Linked DNA regions of Homo sapiens: regions 1 and 2 are each linked to region 3. Evidence: promoter capture Hi-C in 16 types of primary human blood cells and fetal thymus (Javierre and others, 2016). All regions are on one chromosome and are shown on one strand. Each heading gives the region's core, a stretch centred on a gene start or on the middle of the fragment in contact. The rest is flanking DNA. Distances are from core to core; before and after follow the strand shown. Region 1 overlaps LOC105376041 (a long non-coding RNA gene). Region 2 holds the start of ANKRD18A (ankyrin repeat domain 18A). Region 3 holds the start of SLC25A51 (solute carrier family 25 member 51).

Region 1 (3,874 bases), core at 467-2,966, 540 kb before region 3:
TGTACTTGGCCTGCATATGGCTGAGCTGTCTCCTGGCCCCTCATCCACTCGAAGTAGTGGAATCACAGACTAGCACCCACCCACGGGAAGTGTGAATGCCTCTGCACTCTCTGTCACTCTCCCTCCCCACAGGGCAGCCCTGAAGCTCCATTTGGGCACTGTCAGGGGTAGGAACCCTGTACCTCCCAGGCCGACCCTGCCATCTTGCTAAGTGAGCCAGGCTCAGTGGAAAAGCGTGGGCTTTGGAGCCAGGAAGACCATGAGAGTGAGTCCCAGCTCCACCACGCGCCAGCTGTGTGACTGTGGGCAAGCTGTGCCCCTCTCTGGGTCTTACTCTTCTCATCCTGAAAATGGATCCAGTGTCCCCCTTCCAGGGCTCTGTGTGGATGAGATACTATGAGAGTCGAGTGCCTGGCCTCATGCCCAAAGAGCAGTGCTTCTTTTCTCAATCTTTTCCCCGCTTTTGGACAGCTCTGACAAAAGAAAGGTGTTTTTCCTTTCACAGAACTGAAAGGGGACTGCCAGTGGTTGCGTTTCTACCCCCTCGGAGCCTGGACCCTGTCTGCTCCTCTGTCCCCAGAGCATCTGGTAAACAGTGGCGACCTCTCCCATTCCCCACAGGCTCTGCCTTCCATCCCCCAGCCCCAGTCCAGTGCCATGCATGGCTGTGCTCAGCCGAGCTGGCATCCCTGGCCTTCTGCTAGGGCTGAAAGTGCCAAGGACTCCACTACCTTTGGGCCCCTGACCGTGCAGTGAATTGCAGTCCCCACCTGGTTAACCAGGAGCCAGAGCGGCTGCCCATGCCTGGCCCCATGACCAATCTTACCCTTCCCTACTGCAGAAAGACTGACCCAAAGCCCAGCACCTTTGCCTAGCATGGGCCAGGTGCCCTCCTGAGCCACCGACCTCCTTTGAAGCCCTCATGTGAAGAGGCCCAGTCAGGAAAATCCACTTTGAGTCCATCCCAGCTCTGCTGCTAAGCACTGTGGCTCCTTAGGCTCAGGGGCCCCATAGGTCTCTGTTTGCTCACTTCTGAATTGAGGGGATGGGATGGACTGCTTGGGACACGGCCCAGTTTCACAGCCACCTGTCTACTGTTTGGAGCTAACTTTTCATAGGCCTGTGTACCCCACTGGATGGGGAGCTCTTCGAGGGCAGAGGCCCTTCTCATTTAGCTCCCTGTACCCAGCTCCTGCCCATACCTCTGGCAACAGTTGGCACTCACTCATGTTTCCTAAACGGGTGGATGGAAAGCTAACATCCCTCGAGGGTCTACTATGTGCCAAGCTTTGTTTTAAACATTTAGTATGTTTACCACCTCGTTTCATCCTCACAACAGCCCTATGGGAAAGGTACATTATCACCCCATTTCACAGATGAGGAAACTGAGGCACTGAAAGATCTAGAATGTTGTCCAAACTTACACAGCTAGCAAGTTGGGGAGCCAGGCATTGAATGCTAACAATCTGGATGATCGTAAAAGAACTCTCTGACTGCCGAGTTTTGATTTCAATATAATTTTCAGCTCCTATGGCCAGGGCAGTCTGGGCTCTCTCAGAATCAAGATGAGAGAATGGCAGGGGCTTGTGTAGGTTTGAGAACAAACTTCTGTATCAGATCACTTGTACACCACTTTAAGAATTCCCTGGAGAAAGCAGAATTCTTTTCAAAAATGAAATCCAGGCAGGGTGGTGGCTCGAGCCTATAATCCCAGCACTTTGGGAGGCTGACGGGGGAGGATCGCTTGAGCCTAGGAGTTCGAGACCAACCAAGGAAACACAAGGAGACCCCCATCTCTACAAAAAATAAAAGGCTTAGCTGGGCTTAGAGGTGCATGTCTATGGTCCCAGCTATTCAGGAGGCTGAGGTGGGGGGATCACCTGGGCCAGGGAGACCAAGGCTGCAGTGAGCTGTGATTGCACCACTGCACTCCAGCCTGGGTGACGAGTGAGGCTCTGTCTCAAACAAAAACACAAAAATGAAAACTGTGATGAAATAATAGGCTGCCTAGGAGAGGAGGAGGGGATGGGGGAGTATCAATGAAACAAGATTGGCCATGTGTTGACAGTTGTTGAAGCTGGCAGTTCATGATACTATTCCCTTTTCTTTTGCATGGGTTTGCATATTTCCATAATAAAAAGCTTAAATTTTTAAAATAAAATAAGAGGAAGTCCATGACTACCATAAACCCACATAAGTTTGCTGACTGTCTTTCTGGTTGTTTCCCGGTTTCTCCTTTTCCCCTGCAGGCCTGCCTCTGACAGCACCTCAGAGTGTCACATGCGGCCCCGCTGCCTTTCTCTCTTTGTGTGTTGGCTTGTCTCTATGTCTGCCACTTTCTGTGACCTTCTGAGAATCAAGGAAAAGTTCTGCAATCAAGCCCACACATAAACATCCCATTTTTATTTCATTTTCTCCCAGAGCCTCTCTCTTTCTTCTCTGTATGTCCAAATCTCTGTTCTCGTTGTGTTTGCCTTGACTTCTCCATTCATTTTGACCTTGCTGTATGGCTGGCTAGGAATGGTCAGCTCTGGCTGGTACCCCGGACATTAGAAAATGTGCATGGAGGGTATTTTCATGCATGTCTGAAAAGTTCAGAGAGTGCTACCACAAAAAAAATTGGTTGTTGAAGAAGACAAAAACTTTTCTTTTCTACCTCCTTTCTTTCTTAACTGTCTAATAAAGCCATACTCTTTTTCATTTCTTTTCACTTAATAAAAATAACAATAATAATAGCCATTGTTTATTGAATGTGTGCTGTGTGCTGGGCATTTGGATAAGGTTCTTATAGTTATTGTCTCATTTAACCCTTCACAACCTGTGTAACATGTATTCCCACTTCACGGATGAGAAAACTGAGGCTTCAGAGAGGTTAAGTAAAAGCCCAAAGTCACTTAGCTAGAGGCTGGCAGAGCTGGAGTTTGAACCCTTCTTATATTTTCCAAAGAGGAAACATATTCAGGCACTACAATGACATTAAGACATTGATAAAGGTTTCATGTCTGGGGTCCTTAGTGGGGACAGTGACACCCCTCCCCCACCCCTCACTGGTAGACAAATCTGAACTACATGCTCAGGCTGGGCCCTGCCCTGTGAGAAGGACCCTGACCAGCTGAACCATACCCAGGAAGAGGACCGTGATGGAGAGGGGGCCCTGAGAAGGATGGGTAGAAGCTCTCAGGGGCATGGTGCTGACTTCAAAGGAACATCAAGGGTCCAAGGGGCACAGCTGGCACCAAAAGGTAAGCCACATGCTCTGGGTCCATCCTGGACTTTCCCTCTAATTCCAGACCACAAGGCCAATTGTCAGCCTCCTGGTTATCTGTCTCTGGATGTCCCATGGGCACCCCAGTCGAACATGCCCCATCTGAACACCCCAACTTCCTGCTCCTCCCCTGGCATCCTCATCTCAGGAGTGGCACCACCCCCAACCCATTCATCCAAGTCAGGGACCCAAAGTCATCCTCCACTCCTTCCTCTCCAATCCCTGCCAAATCCAGACACATCTCTCCAACCTGACAGCCACCACCTTCGTCTAGGCCACTGTCCCCTTTGTCTGGACTATCTCAGTAGCCTCCTGCTTGGGCTCCTACCTCCTAACCATTTTCCATCCTGTGACCAGAGGGATCTTCCTAAAAATCCTCCTCTTAGCCTTTCCCTTCTCCCAGCCCAAGGGGCCAGCTGGAGACAGGGAGGAAAGGAAAAATGCTCTCAGACCTTCCAGTTCCAGTCTTTGCCCACCTCTGGCTGCCTCCTGTGCTCCCTGTCCACTGGTCTTGCAAGCCGTCCCTCTGGTCTGTTTCCAGCCTCAGGTCTTTTCCATCCACTGCACTCAGGCTCCCTCCTTCTTCCCGTGGGTGGGATTCTGGGAATC
Region 2 (3,754 bases), core at 385-2,884, 720 kb before region 3:
AAGAAGAGGAGCAGGGCTGCTGAAAGGTGCGGTGCCGCGGCGCCAGAATGCGGGATCCTGAGCCCTGCATGCGAGTCTTCGCGGGGCCGATCGCTGCGAGCCTCGCTTAGGTCCAGCCGCCTCCAGGGAGGGCAATATCCACGAGACGCGGGGAGTGAGGGCGGTGCTGGCCGCACCCCTGGTCCTGGGGCCGCGGGAGCCGTGCTAGCAGGCCGCCTTCCACTGCCGCCTGCGCCGGGTCGGGTTGCTGCAGCGGTGCCCGCTGCAGGAGCTCCGCGCCTGCTGCTTCTCCGACGTCAGGGCGCCGCCAGGATGACAGGTGCAGGAGGCTGCGGCTGTGGGCAGATGTGGTTTCCAGCCCCAGGTCCCGGCGGCCCCTGGCTTCCCAGCCCGCTGTCCTGTGGGCAAGAAGATGAAGAAAGTCACCCCATCAGCAGGTCAGCTGCCCCGCCTGGCAGCCCAGCCAGACAAGGCAACCGAAGTTCATCCTGTCTGAGTTGACTTTGTGCAGGCAGCGGGCCGGCGCCCAGGATGCTGGGGAGCCCTGCGCGCCGGAGGCCGACAAGCCGTGGGGCCCAGAGGCGCCACAGGGCGAGAAGGCACCCGCCTCCCAGCGCTTTCACCCCCCGGCCCGCCCGACCCGCTAGGTGTAGCAGTGGCTGCGGCCAAGCCAGGCATTCTGCCCGGCGGCGGCTGCACAGGGGCGAAAACTGAGAACCCCTGCTCAACCCCATCCGGAGTGACTGCCAAGTGCCCATGCCAGCGACCCCGATCCCCCTCCGGTGGAGGAATGGGCGGGAGGCACGGCCTGGGGGCCCTCAGGCTGGGCGCGCTGGCGATCCCGAGGCCGACCAGGCCATGCACCTCCAGCCCGCCTGGGCACCCAAGCTGCATCCGCCTTCTGTGTGCAGGCAGCAGCCTCCAGGCAACCCCCGAGCCCGCCAGCACTCCCCACATCTCAGAACCGGGGCCAGATGTCCCTGTGGCTGCGGCTGAGCTAGGTGGTCTGCCCTGCAGCGGGAACCGGCTCTCAGCCCCATTCCCCGTGGCTGCAGAGGGCCACTGGCTAGAGGTCCCGAGCTTCAGCAGACGAGGAGCCGAGCAGGGGCAGGGCCTGGCGGGCTCTCAGGCCAGGTGCACTCGCGATCCAGAGGCCGCCTAGGCCGTGCTCCACCACCTGGGCGCCCAAGCTGCAGGCGCCCTCTACCTGCTGGCGACAGCTGCCTGGCAACTCCCAAGATGGCTGGCGCTCCCAGCCTGGCAGAACCGGGGCTACATGTCGCCCTGGCTGCGGCCAAGCCAGGCGGTCTACCCGGCGGCGGCTGCACCGGGACAGGAACCGACCCCCCAGTCCCATCCCCGGTGGCTGCGGAGGGCCCCTGTCAGCGGCCCCGATCTCTCTTCGGAGGAGGAGCGGGTCGGGAGTCAGGGCCAGGCAGGCCCTCAGGCGGGAAGGGATGCACTCCTGGGATTCCGGGACGTCCCGCGGGAGCCCAGGAGAACCCGCAAGCCAGCGACGCGTGCGCCCGTGCTGCAGGTGCCCCCTGCCGGCCACGAGGGCTTGGGAGCGGCTTCCGGAGTCCCGGCTGGCGCTGAGTTGTAGGCGCGCGCCTAACTGGCATCGCGGGGACTCACTCGGTCTGAGAGTTCGGAGCGCTGAGGTTCAGGCGCGCGCCTAACGGCTTAGCTGGGCTCACTCGGTCTGAGAGGTCGGAGTCTGCGAGTGTCGCTGCTGAAGGCTGTGGTGGACCGGGCTGGATCGCGGATTCTGAGCTACATTGCGGGTTTGGGGGTGGATCTTGGATTTGGGGGTGGATCGCGGGTTGCGGGGGGGATCGCGGGTTGCGGGGGAGATCGCGGATTTGGGGCGGAGTGGGGGTGGAAAGGCCACGAGGAGCCGCCGCGGCTCAGGAGCGGGTGGTGGGCGTCTGAGAAGTCGCCACCATGAGGAAGCTCTTCAGCTTCGGGAGACGCCTGGGCCAGGCGCTCCTGAGCTCCATGGACCAAGAGTATGCGGGTCCGGGTTACGACATTCGGGACTGGGAACTGCGGAAGATCCACAGGGCTGCCATCAAGGGCGACGCCGCGGAGGTGGAGCGCTGCCTGACGCGCAGGTTCCGGGACTTGGACGCCCGCGACAGAAAAGACAGGTAGCTCGGGGACTCAGCCCGCGGTGGGAGGGGGCCGCAGGCCCGGCTTCCCTGCAGCCCGGCAGCCCCTGGGGCGGGGACCTTGGAGGGCGCCGGGCACCCTCGGAGCAGCGGAGCCAAATGGAGCCTCAGCTGCTTTCCGTCGCTGGCAATTCCCCGTCCGTCGCGCTTGGTGGAAAATTTGAGTGATTTAACTCACAAAGTTAGGCATATCCACGTTTAAAACATGGGGCCATATACATGATAGGGAGGTGCCTAATGAGAACTCATTCCCCTGTCAAAAATACCATGAGCCTTTTTCAGTAGGCGAAGAGTTCTCAGATAAAACCCTGTGTCGGTTTTACATCCGAATCCACCTAGGTAGACAGGTTCTTTACTGGAGCTTCTTAGAGGGACACTGGGAAGCGCGAGGTGGGTTCCTTGAATGGGAAGACTCAGTTTTCTCAAAATATGAACTGTTTCCATGTTTATCAGTTTTACATAAACTGAATGAAGATATCAAGGTTTTATCATTTTTGCATGACACTTGCTATCTATCTTACCATTGTGATGACATTTAAAAATGTTTATAATGGAGTGAAAAGACTTGCTCCTCTAGATATCAAAATGTGCTATTAATTCCCACAATTAATTATTTACTAACAGCTGAAAACACAGATAAATAAATGGAACAGAACAGGAAATCCAAAAACACTGAAATATATGTAAGATATATACATAGGGATGGATAATGGTAACGTTTCAGATGAGTAGGAAAAGATGAGTTATTAATAAAATGCCTGCTGTGTGAAGAAAACTAATGAAACTTTATGTCGCAAAAATGGGTTCCTGATGGAATTCAGACTGAAATTTTTACACATGCAAAATGAGAAAAAGTACCAGAAGAAAACGCAAAGACTTATTTATACAGGTACATTTTATGTTAACAAAGGCCTTCGTAAGAATGACCTCGCAAGCAGGCATTCTGAAAGTTGATTTAGCAAACTAAAAATTAAAATCCCCTGTGTATCAGAAAAAAATTAACAAAAGATAACACACTCGAAAAATATTTCCTATATATATTTTTACTAATATATAAAAATATATATTCAGATGAAAAGTGTATCTTCATCCTACAGGGAATTTATTCTTTATTATATATAATACATATTACTGATTATATGTATAAGAAATTGTATATATTACTAATATAATGTGTTATATATATATATCAGTTATATATATACAGATAAAAAGCACATCTTTATTTTACAGGGAATTCTTTCCAATCAAATCCACAAGAAAAGAACTCTAGAAGTGAGCAAAGCACTTTTTGCAGATTCACAAGTTACTTATGTACATAGGAAAAAATCCTTAGTGTTTCTCATAAGATAAGTTAAAAGAGGAGTGAGACTGTGTTCTATCCACAGTGTTTGTGAGAATGAAGAGCAGTGGCACTTACACTGCTGCTTGAAGTTTAAGTTGCTGATGACTTTTCAAGTGGATAATTTGGAGATAATTACCACATTTTAAAAATGTATATGCCCTTTACCCATCAATTCCATTGTATTAAAATACCTTCAGAAAATAGAGATACATGCACTTTTTTTCCCCAGCATTTATGT
Region 3 (4,276 bases), core at 473-2,972:
CTGTGCTGTGGCCTGCAGCAGCATAAAAGAAGCAGACTGGGCTCAGCTCCAGACCTCAGTTTTCCCGTTAGCCTGGGATTTTCTGAGTCTGGTGTGCCCCAATTGTGTGTTTAATTTCAGTCTTTTCCTTCTTGTTCAGGTTTTACCGCAGGAGAATAACCTCTCCATTCTAATCTGAAATTAATTATTTATGCTTATGAACACGCTGGATGCCTGCCTGGTTTATTTATTTTTCAAATAATGCATCTGAATAGGCATTCACACAAGACAGGGCAAACATAATTTTGAGGCAAAGGCCCTTTCCAACTGTTGCCCGATTAACTGTTCTAAGCCATTGTGTAGCCTTGTCCTTATCCTGCGGAGTCCAAAATTTATCCCTCGCGTACTAATTAGATGGCAGGTGTCTGTGTCTGACAGTCAAGATTCGCATTATCCAGCCCCACCACCTGACCCTTACAATCTTATCTCCTGCTGCTATGACTTTCTCCACTGGGCCAAATTCCACTCATCCATCCTCCAAGGCCCAGTTCAAACGTCTGCTCTGTGAAGCCATCTCTGGTTCTCCCTCGAGGGGGGAGGTCCCCTCATGCTTCTGAATTTCCAGTCTTTTGTTGTTGTATCCTTCATCAGACGCTAAGCTCCCCAGGACCTGGCACGCAGTAGGTTCCTCAATGGAGCGTTTGCTGGAATGGGGGAGGGTGGTCTCCAGCTTCCCGAGAGGCACCTAAGCACGCCAGCCAAAGTGGGGCTGGGCAGAGACCAGACCCGCTTTTGGAGTCAGTGTCTACAAAGTGCTCTCGGGGGAAGGGGGCACGCGGGGAACGTCGCCCACCCGGAGCCGATCCCCCCAAGAACGCTTCACTCGGGTGGGGTTACTGCTTGGGCTCGCCCCAAGCACAGTGCGCACACTTCACACATCCGCAAGCCTCCTGAAACGCCTCTCCCCTCAGGCCGACCTTTCTGTTTCCTTCAACGCCTCCCATCTGTTGTGTGCGTTCCAGTTTCCAACTCAGAGTCAGAACCATCATTTCCAAAGACTCCTGCAACAGCCCGAGGACGCATACAAGGCATGGGTTACTTTTCAGACGGAGATTTGGGGCTCAGGGTCCAGCGACTCACCCAAGGTCACTCTCAAGAAGTATGAGGGCTATGACTTTGACCCAAGCCTTCTAACTCCCCGGGCAGCGCTCCTCCCAAGCCCCCCGCAAGCTGTCTGAGCTTCAAAGGAAAAAGTTTAAAAGTGATCCATACGTCCCAAAGCACGCACAAAGCGTTCTTCTGTAAACTGCGGCATGGGTCGCTGATAAAAGGTCCCTCTGAAGGTTTGAAGATACTCAACAAGGCTCCACAGAGGGTACTTTGGAGTTTTCCGCGAAGGCGCTCGCCCCGCAGAACCGACAAGGCCCCTAAAACCGACAATGCCCAGACGCCCCCTGCAGGCAGCGCGCTAGAGAACGCGTTGGCTGTTTCTGGCACGCTGAGGCCACCGTACGGCATCAAGGGTGAAGCATGGTGGCTAGCGGAGCCCGCATCCTGACAGGTGTGCTGGCGTGGCCCTCTACCTGCCCCGCCGCGGCGGCCTGCGGCCAGGAGAAGTAGGCTGGCGACATCTGGCGGGCCGCGGGCCGAGGGAGGGGAGGCGGGGCGGGGCGGTGTCTCCCTCACGTGACCCCAACAGCGCCCAGCGCGTCGCGCTGCGCCCCAACCTCGGGGTCGGTCACAGTCTGCGCCTGCGCGGGCCCCGGCTCGCTAGCCGTCCTGCGGGACGCCGGCGCTGATGGGTGAGTGTGGGACGAGCGTGGGGAAGCACCGGGCTTTCTTCGCATGAGGTTGGAGGGAGGGGAAACGCGCTGAAGGGCCCGCTGGGGCAGGCTGCCGCCCTGGGGGCCCATCCCTGTCTTCTGCGCGCTCCGGCTGCCCTGGCCCGGTCCCTGCGGGCCCCACCCAGGCGGCGCGGGCGGAATCAGTTCTGAGCCTCCTCGGCTCCGGGCTCCCCCGCCTGCCGCGGGTGTTTGTCCGGCTGCTGGGCGACCTTTCCCGCGAAGGCGCTGTCCCTTCATTCGGGCGCGCCCTGGGCTGGGGAGGCACCTCCCTGGTGCACAGGAACCGCAGGGGCGGGGAGGAGCCGGGAGCTGCCTGCGCCCGGGGGACAGCGGGGATGGCACCGCGCAAGGGCCTCTGCGTCCCGGGAGACTGGGATTTCGGCCTCACCTCGGGACCCCTGACTGTGAAGTGTCAGAAACGGAAGAGGACTTAGTGATCTTGTCCAACCCCCTCCCCGCCTTTCACAGGTTGGGGAAATGGACGCCTGGAGAACGGTAAGTTCAGCTACATAGCCTGGCAGTGCTTGTTCTGCGACAGCATATTGCATCGCGTTGTAGGAAGCTCACTTGTACAAGGATTTTCGGGGACGATGGTGTTGGTGGTGTTAGTCTCCATCCATTATTTGGTGTTCAGTTTAGCTAGATGGAGTATGTCAGCACCTCAACTTCCTGCAAAACCTTTGTTTTGCATCTCACAGCTCTACCTAGCTGATCTTAATTCCCACCTTCTGTTTTTCTCTACTTGTAATCTCTGAAACAGAAGCCCTTGAAATGTATAGTGACCTTGCCATTTTGAGCCGCCTCTGCCCGTGCTTTGAAAGGATTCCATAGGATCAAAAGGTGCTAGGACTCTTGAGGTCCCATAGTGGTTTAGAGCACAGGTTACCGCTTTGGAACTGGAATCACCCTTAGCGCATCTCAGGGGAAAACAAGCTAGGAGTTGACTCATCTGATCTCTCGTTTGGTAAATGAAAGCAAACTCAGATCAGTGGATTTTAAAATCAGATATTGCTTTGTCTTTATATTGGCAAGCTAGTGTCGTAACTAGGACTAGACCCAGGCTGATCTTGTTCTGAATGCTGACTCAGACCTGCTGACTAGTGGAAATTCACATCCTTTGAGAATTGGAGTCACCCTCTCCCCAGTTTTTGCAGAGACCTTTGTGCTAGGATCATATCTGTATCATGCTGATCCATGTAGGCTGTAAATTATAATAAGGTTTTAGACTTTACACTGTTTTCTTAGTCACAGAAGCTTGACACTTGTAGTTGCTTGAAAATCAAGTTCATTAACTGCTCCCTTATGATGAGATAGTTTTACGTAGCAAACAAGCGTAAAGTTATGGTAAATAAATTTTGCAATAAATTGCAAAGAATTATCCACATTAATGAATAAAAATATAAAGATCAGTTTAGCAAAGAAATTTAACCATGTTCACAGTATAGGTAAACATGCAAAAGTCTAAACTGTACTACCAAATAATGCTGTGCACATTATCCTTCTATTGCTAAATTAAGAACATATTCACACCATCCTGGTGTGTAGGATTAAACTAGAGAAAAAGCTTTAAATCTGTAAAGTCCAGGAGGGTTTCATAACATTTTTTCCCCCATCTAGGCCTATTTTTTAAATCTGAGAATCTCAATGTACAGTAATGTTCTTAAAATAGTTGGATATGGTGGTCAATAAATGGTTAACTTCTGTTAGCTGTAGTTTTCTGCTTGTTTAATAACAGTCCCCATTCTCACACAGAGTCATAAATAAACTAACCTTTATTTGCAAAATTTCAGAAAGTAATACAAGTAACATTCCAGTAAAAGTGAACATGGACAAAATTTTTATTGTTGTTCAAGTACACAAATAACTTGGCTTGTACTGTCAAGGAGCATGTGTAAACAGCTTGTAGGTGGTGACTTTAGAATTTAAAATATTTTGTGTGCTCCGTATGTAAAAATAAAATGGTTTTGACATTCATAAATTGTCACAATATCATGTAATCATGTACATTAATCTAAATATTCTTGTTGATTTAACATTGTTTAATTCTGAAACTGAAGAAGTGCAAAGCATTACATAGGTATCAAGCATTTCTAGACTAAGTTTTAGGACTTCAAATATTGATTAATCTTAGCTTGTAAGTGTACTAATAAGAGTTTTTAACTCATACCTATCAGCTGAATCAGTAAAAAGTAAGGATGTAGTAGAACTAATAATTATCAAACTCAATACCCTAACAGACTTCAGTGTCTAGAACATATCTTGAAGTTAATCATATTAAGCCCCAAAACTCTGTACATTAAGAAAGGGAGAGGAGAGAGGGAACAGATGATATTCTGGAACCTTTTTTTTCCCTTTAATCTTATTTTTACTGTGAATAACAACACTAGACTCACTGAAGATTTTGGGACACTTACTAGCAAGCATAGTTAAGACAAAATGCCAACTCTCTTAAA

What was found. Contacts are between HindIII fragments. The CHiCAGO score rates a contact against its expected background, and 5 or more counts as called.
Region 1: a contact is called between a fragment that was not itself captured here and the fragment with the promoter of SLC25A51 in region 3, in 8 of 17 cell types (naive CD8 T cells, megakaryocytes, naive B cells and 5 more). The highest score is 7.7, in naive CD8 T cells.
Region 2: the fragment with the promoter of ANKRD18A here is called in contact with the fragment with the promoter of SLC25A51 in region 3 in 5 of 17 cell types (activated CD4 T cells, total CD4 T cells, total CD8 T cells and 2 more); the score reaches 11.7 in activated CD4 T cells.

Annotation. Positions count from the first base shown.
Region 1 is chr9:38,439,071-38,442,944 of GRCh38, reverse strand. All of the region lies in intron 4 of LOC105376041 (a long non-coding RNA gene), which reads right to left. Among named protein-coding and RNA genes, the nearest start is that of IGFBPL1, 17 kb to the right of the region's middle. The HindIII fragment of the contact is 854 bases long and covers 1,290-2,143 here.
Region 2 is chr9:38,618,476-38,622,229 of GRCh38, reverse strand. ANKRD18A (ankyrin repeat domain 18A) reads left to right here and starts at 1,634. Exons shown (of 16, transcript NM_147195.4): 1 at 1,634-2,150. The coding sequence starts at 1,945. FAM201A (family with sequence similarity 201 member A) reads right to left here and starts at 1,142. Exons shown (of 2, transcript NR_027294.1): 1 at 865-1,142; 2 at 1-398. RefSeq lists enhancers at 7-216, 869-988. The HindIII fragment of the contact is 5,020 bases long and covers 1-3,754 here.
Region 3 is chr9:37,901,573-37,905,848 of GRCh38, reverse strand. It overlaps SLC25A51 (solute carrier family 25 member 51), which reads left to right and starts at 1,722. Exons shown (of 3, transcript NM_033412.4): 1 at 1,722-1,781. It also overlaps the pseudogene PAICSP1. RefSeq lists a silencer at 1,522-2,281. The HindIII fragment of the contact is 4,581 bases long and covers 1-3,079 here.